Linked DNA regions of Homo sapiens: region 2 is linked to region 1. The links are contacts of gene promoters, found by promoter capture Hi-C in human tissues and cell types (Jung and others, 2019). All regions are on one chromosome and are shown on one strand. The core of a region is centred on a gene start or on the middle of the fragment in contact, and the rest is flanking DNA. Distances in the headings are between cores, read along the strand shown.

What was found. Contacts are between HindIII fragments. The study calls those that stand out against the background at their distance.
Region 2: a contact is called between a fragment that was not itself captured here and the fragment with the promoter of PHOX2B in region 1, in 4 of the 25 tissues and cell types used here (H1 embryonic stem cells, heart left ventricle, mesenchymal stem cells and 1 more).

Annotation. Positions count from the first base shown.
Region 1 is chr4:41,747,099-41,750,253 of GRCh38, forward strand. PHOX2B (paired like homeobox 2B) reads right to left here and starts at 1,627. Exons shown (of 3, transcript NM_003924.4): 1 at 1,272-1,627; 2 at 251-438. The coding sequence starts at 1,512. It overlaps PHOX2B-AS1 (PHOX2B antisense RNA 1), which reads left to right and starts at 1,251. Exons shown (of 4, transcript NR_187403.1): 1 at 1,251-1,488. The HindIII fragment of the contact is 4,691 bases long and covers 1-2,704 here.
Region 2 is chr4:41,826,007-41,829,161 of GRCh38, forward strand. No RefSeq gene overlaps it. Among named protein-coding and RNA genes, the nearest start is that of LINC00682, 55 kb to the right of the region's middle. The HindIII fragment of the contact is 4,364 bases long and covers 1-3,155 here.

The sequences.
Region 1 (3,155 bases), core at 377-2,876:
CGTCCCAAGGCCCCCCATGTCTCTGCTCGGGTGGGAAACACTTCGCAACTGTAAATAAAATGCCAAGAGCGTGCGCTCTAAGCCTCTCTCGAACGCACAGCCACACCAAATCCAGTATTTCTGATCGGCCATGGGGCCCTAGGTCCTTCTCACTCGAGGCTCCAGGACTTCGAATTTCACCAGCCGCCCCTCACCCCACACCTCCCCGGACCAGTGCGGCGGAGCGGGGTCGGTTTCCAGGCGCGCGTACCTGGACTCGCGCCTCTGTGAGGTCGATCTTCAGGGCCAGCTCCTCCCGAGTGTAGATGTCGGGGTAGTGAGTCTCCGCGAAGACCCTTTCCAGCTCTTTGAGCTGGGCACTGGTGAAAGTGGTGCGGATGCGCCGCTGCTTGCGCTTCTCGTTGAGGCCGCCGTGGTCCGTGAAGAGTTTGTAAGGAACTAGAGTATGACAGAGGAGACAGAAAGTGAGCAAATCAGCCGGCAGCTCGCCGGCCGTGGAGCTAGAATGTGAGGACTCCAAGGTCAGGTCATACGGCAGCCGCTACCTACACCCGCGCGAGAGAGTTGCCGAGAGAAGCTGCGGGAAGAAACCGAGGAAATTTGTTATCTGCGGAAACCTGGGCTCAAACTTCGGGCTTGGCGGAGTCCTTTCTGGCACAAGCGCCTTTGGGTGGATTGAAACAGCGCGATGTGACGGACTTGAGATAGTGCTTTCAGCAGGAAAAAACCAGAGAGGAAAAAAATCCAAAAACATCAGTCGGAATATCAGGGAGCCAGGAAAGAAGTTACCAAACAGTCCCACTTTGGGAACTTTTCAATTCTCAGAAAGTTGACCCGGCTCAAAAGTTGGGGGAAAGAGCTGCAAAAAAATAATAATAAATTAAAGAAATAATCATAAAAATGACCAGCCAAAGAGGTGTGAGCCGCTGTCGGTTCTTAAAAAAAGAGACACTGCCAGTAATGAGCTTTACTCTTTGTTATTTAATTATTTTCTAAGCTTTACGTCTCATCGCAAAGTAAATAAATTATGCCTATCATTTTGGCAGCTTAAGATAATTTTGTTGGCGGTTCGGGTGTGACTAGGATAGTGTAACCCTGTAAGTGAATTACCCCTCCCTGCAATCGCTTCTAACGTGATAAATTCTTTCATTTGTGTAAGCAAATTTCGTTTGGTAAATACTAAACACATTTCCATTTTCAAATGCAATCAAGGCTTCCTATATACGGGCGGAAAGGCGGCTTCCTCCGCTGAGAAAGCTGAAGGTCCTTACCTGCGGCGTACGGACTGCTCTGGTGGTCCCTGAGGGTGCCCAGGCTGCAGGATCCCGGCGTGAGGGAAGGGCAGCCGGACGTGGCCCCAAAAGTGGTCCTTATCGGGTTATACTGGAAGCCACTGGCCTGGCTGCAGGAACTGAAGTCAGCATAGGCTGAAGCCAGGCTCGAGGTGTCCATCCCAGCCATACAGGACTCGTAGGCAGAGGAATTGAGGTAAGAATATTCCATTTTATACATTGAAAAGGTTCTGGATGGCTCAGCCAAGTGGAAAAATGAAATAAAAGATGGATATGGAGAAGGTGGCTGGAGTGGGGAGATGTGCACAGCTCAACGCCTGCCTCCAAACTGGCCTCCTTACTACCAGCAGAGCCTAGTTTTATGAAAAAGCCTCCTATGAGATGCCTTGTCTGAGGTCTCTAGAGCATATAGTCCTCATAATAAACTTGGCTCTTTCCACTTGGACAATAGCAAAGCGGTTGGTCTTATTGCTGGCGCTTTTTACATGACAATAACTCATCCGTCTATTGGGCTGGCACTGGGGAACTGAGCTGTCCAACCTCCCTATCATTGATTCCTGCATCTCTAATTAGAATTTAATACCACACCATTACGCACCGAGCCCCTGATCCTCCCTTCTAACCAGCTCCCTGCCCTTTAATTCAATCACACTACTTGGAAATAATGAAAGTTGGGTGACGATTCTCCCTGATCCAATTTCCCCGAGCTTTTAAGCCTTTTTAACTGATCATATACCTTAGGCATAAATTGAGATAGTGTGTGTGTTTTCCCCCTTCTTCGTCCTCTTCTTTTTTTCCCCCTCGGTTAGGGAGAAGAAACCTTGATGTCATAGAAAACCTGTTTTGTAAGAGTGTTACACGCTCAATTTAACAACAAGCCTACCCCCCGAAGTGCATGAAATGTTATAAAGGACTGGGACATTGGCAAGACTCAGGCGCCCTGTAACATAGAGTAAGTGGGCCAAGGGGGTTTATGTGAACGATAAGCGGATTTCTTTAAAAATACACCTGGTAGAGGGGGTTAAAAAAAAGAGAGACAGAGAGAAAGCATCTTATAAATTGCATTTCTTCTTGCAGCTAAATGTGCTTTCAAGAGACTCAGGGTATACAGCCACTTAAAAATAATAATAAAAAAATCTGAGGAAAGCTTTCGAATGTGAAACATCTGGATTCTCGACCGTTGTGTTCTTTGCTCTCAGTTCTGTCTGTTTGCATTAGCGCAAGCCTTGGTTGGTTTGAGTTTCTGTGAGGTTGTTCGTTTTAATTACACCATAACTGGCAAGCGAGCATGAAGTGTACCCAAATGTATCTCCTCTTTCATCTCTTTCGGGCGCTCTCCCTCTTTCTCGCCTCTTTTTTTTTTTCAGGTGCCCACAATCCTCCACAGACCCGGGGATTGTGTCTGTTTGCCTTTTAGGTTTGCGGACTGTAGTGAGGGAAATTCTTGCCATGTAAATGCCCAGGCAAGGGCTCCAGGTCGGGCACCTTTCTTGTCCGATTCCTCAGGCTTTTGGGTGCTGGCAGCGAGGCACAGACAAAGGAGCGAGCAGTGATTTGTGGACTTCAGTGGCCCCATGATTTAAGCGGAGGGTAATTTTCATTTGGTTTGTTAGGCCCTAGCAGAATAAGGGAAACTATTTCATTAAATCCTTCCTCTCGGTGGACAAGAGGGGGAAAGCTTAGCTGAATCGCCGTGTGGTGTAAACAAACCCTGGATATTTTATATGAATTAAATGTGTAGATAATTAGTTTTATTGCATTCATTACCCCCTTTATGTGCTCTGTAACAAGTCAGTAATTAAAGTAACAAACTCATAAAGTCTTTATAGGGGCATTTAGGCGTTCAGTGTTTGCCAAACTAAG
Region 2 (3,155 bases), core at 361-2,860, 79 kb after region 1:
CTCCCCAGGCAAACAGATGGACCCACTGTCCCCTGAACAAACCTGCAGGGTTTTTTTAAAAAATCTGTTATTTGATTGATTTTGCCTCCATCTTGGAATGCCTTCCCCACTGCCCTCTGCCTGTGTGAACAATCTTTGTCTTTCAAGATCAGCTCAAATCTGACCACAAAACTCTTTACCCACCCACTTGCTCCTCCTCCAGGGCTCCTCACATCAGTAAATGCCACCATCATACAGTTAGTTTGTTCCCTGGTCTCCACCCTCCCGTGATCTCCTGCACAAAGCCCTATTAAACTTCAAATGTGTCATGAATCTGTTCCCCTCTCTTATCTCTACAGCAATCACCTTCCCCAAGTTACTGCAATAAACTTTCTAAACTTGTCTCTCCACTTACATCCTCAGTCTTTGGGTTCCCTATTAATCTATTGTTTCTCACTTTCTATGTCTAATTTGTTTGCTAGGGCTAGGGCTCTGCAAACTGCATTTCTGCTTTGCCGTTGTACTAGTAGGGGGCTCCAAAGGGAGCCGTGAAGGAAGAAGATGGGAAGAGCCTTACTCCTCGCTGCTTGCTTGCTGCTCCTGCCAGCATGACCATATGATGAGGGGACCACCAGGAGTGAGGGTTTCAGTAACCATTGGTTCCAGTTTCCAGATTTTTTCCCCACCATCCCAGAACTGGGCTCATTACACTAGCTCAGAGGTACTAGCACTAGCTGGGAATGCCCTGTCTTCAGAGATCTAGGTCCACTTCTGCAGGGCTCCTCTGAACTCTTAAGATACCAACACTAACTTGATGGTGAGTGTCTGTTCTCAGGGTTAGAGTCCCAGCTCCACGAGGCCACCAAGCTTCTAAGTTCTTATAACCCCAACCTCTTTCCTGTGTTCCCTCAACCTTAGTAGTGGTAGTTGTCTCCCAAAGTTACTATGCTGTTAGGAGGGACCTTCAAATAGTTCATGGAAAATGTAATTAAAAGATCAAAATAAAAAATATAAACTTTCTTTCTTAACAAAAGCTTCATCAAGTTCAAGACACTTTTCAAAGCCAAGACACCAGCTACTTAGCCCATTCCTAAGTAACTGAGGGTCCTGGGAATTTAACCATGTCAGTACAGTCTTTTTTACATTACTAATTGAAGAAAAATGGGTGTCCTTTAAAGATTTTTTAAGATTAGGAAACCAAAAGAAGTCAGAAGGAGCCAAATCAGGACTGTAAGTAGGATGCCTAATGATTTCCCATCAAAACTCTCAAAAAAATTGCCTCTGTTTGATGAGAGGAATGAGCAAGAGATTGACATGGTGGAGAAGGATTCCGGTGACGCTTTCCCAGGTGTTTTTCTGCTAAAGCTTTGGCTAACTTCCTCAAAACACTCTCATAATAAGCAGATGTAATTGTTGTTTGGCCCTCCGGAAAGCCAACAAGCAAAATGCCTTGAGCCTCCCAAAAAACTCTTGCCATGACCTTTGCTCTTGACCAGTCCACTTTTGTCCTGATGGGACCACTTCCACCTCTTGGTAGCCATTGCTTTGATTGTGCTTTGTCTTCAGTATCTTACTGGTAGGGCCACGTTTCATCTCCTGTTAGAATTCTTCAAAGAAATGCTTCAGGATCTTGATCCCACTTGTTTAAAATTTTCATTGAAAGCTCTGTTCTTGACTGCAGCTGATCTGGGTGCATTAGTTTTGGCAACCATTGAATGGGAAGTTTACTCAGCTTTAATATTTCAGTCAGAATTGTGTAAGCTGAACAAATTGAGATGTCCATGGTGTTAGCTATTGTTCCTGCTGTTAATCATCAGTCCTCTTCCATTAGGGCACAAACAAGATTAATTTTTTCCTTGTAAATGGATGTCGCTGGTCTGCTGGGAGGGACTTCATCTTCAACATCATCTCATCCCTTCTTAAGAAAAGTTATCGGCCGGGCATGGTGGCTTACTCCTGTAATCCCAGCACTTTGGGAGGCCGAGGAGGGTGGATCATGAGGTCAGGAGTTCAAGACCAGCCTTGCCAACATAGTGAAACCAGATCTCTACTAAAAATAAAATAATTAGCCGGGCGTGGTGGCAGGCGCCTGTAATCCCAGCTACTCGGGAGGCTGAGGGAGGAGAATCGCTTGAATCCGGGAGGCAAAGGTTGCAGTAACCTGAGATCACACCATTGCACTCCAGCCCAGGCAACAGTGTGAGACTCCGTCTCAAAAAAAAAAAAAGTTATCCTCGGCCAGGAGAGGTGGCTCATGCCTGTAATCCCAGCACTTTTGGAGACCGAGGCGAGCTGATCACCTGAGGTTGGGAGTTCATGACTAGCCTGACCAACATGGAGAAACCCCATCTCTACTAAAAAAATACAAAATTAACTGGGCGTGGTGGTGCATGCCTGTAATCCCAGCTCTTCGGGAGGCTGAGACAGGAGAATCGCTTGAACCTGGGAGGTGGAGGTTGCAGTGAGCCGAGATCACCCCACTGCACTCCAGCCTGGGCAACAAGAGCAAAACTCTGTCTCAAAAAAAAAAAAAAAAAAAAAAGTTATCCTCCTTCATATCTGGAGGATATTTTTTAAGTTATCCATTTCAAACGGCTGATATCTTTGGTGTATTGTCCCCATAAACTTTTTATGAAGCATTCGTGATTTCACCATTTTTCCACCCAAGCTTCACCTTACATTTAATGTTTGCTCTTGCTTCAATTTTAGCAGAATTCATGTTGCTCTGATAAGGAATTTTTTTAAACTGATGTCTTATCCTTCTTAATGCCTCAAACTAGATGCTGTTCAGACATAACAAATGAGTATGGATTTTTCTGGTGCAAAAATATTTTGAAATCCAGGCACAGTTTTTTCATAATATGCATTTTTCATAAAGTTGTTGAAGACCCCTCAAATTATCATTATTGCCTCTTTTTTGATCTAATACTTGTACAACCAACTGCTTATATTAAATTCTCACTGTTAAACTTACTGGCGTGGTTTCTGATTTCTTGACTGGATCTCCACAGATACATCCTTCTTGGATCCATTGTCATGGCAGCCAGTGTGATCTTTTGGATATGCAAATCAGACTGTGTCATTCTTGGGCTTAATATCCAGTGTTGAGATCCCATTGCTTTCAAGATCAAGTCTAAGACCCTTACCATTGCTTACAAAACATTTGCATTCATTCA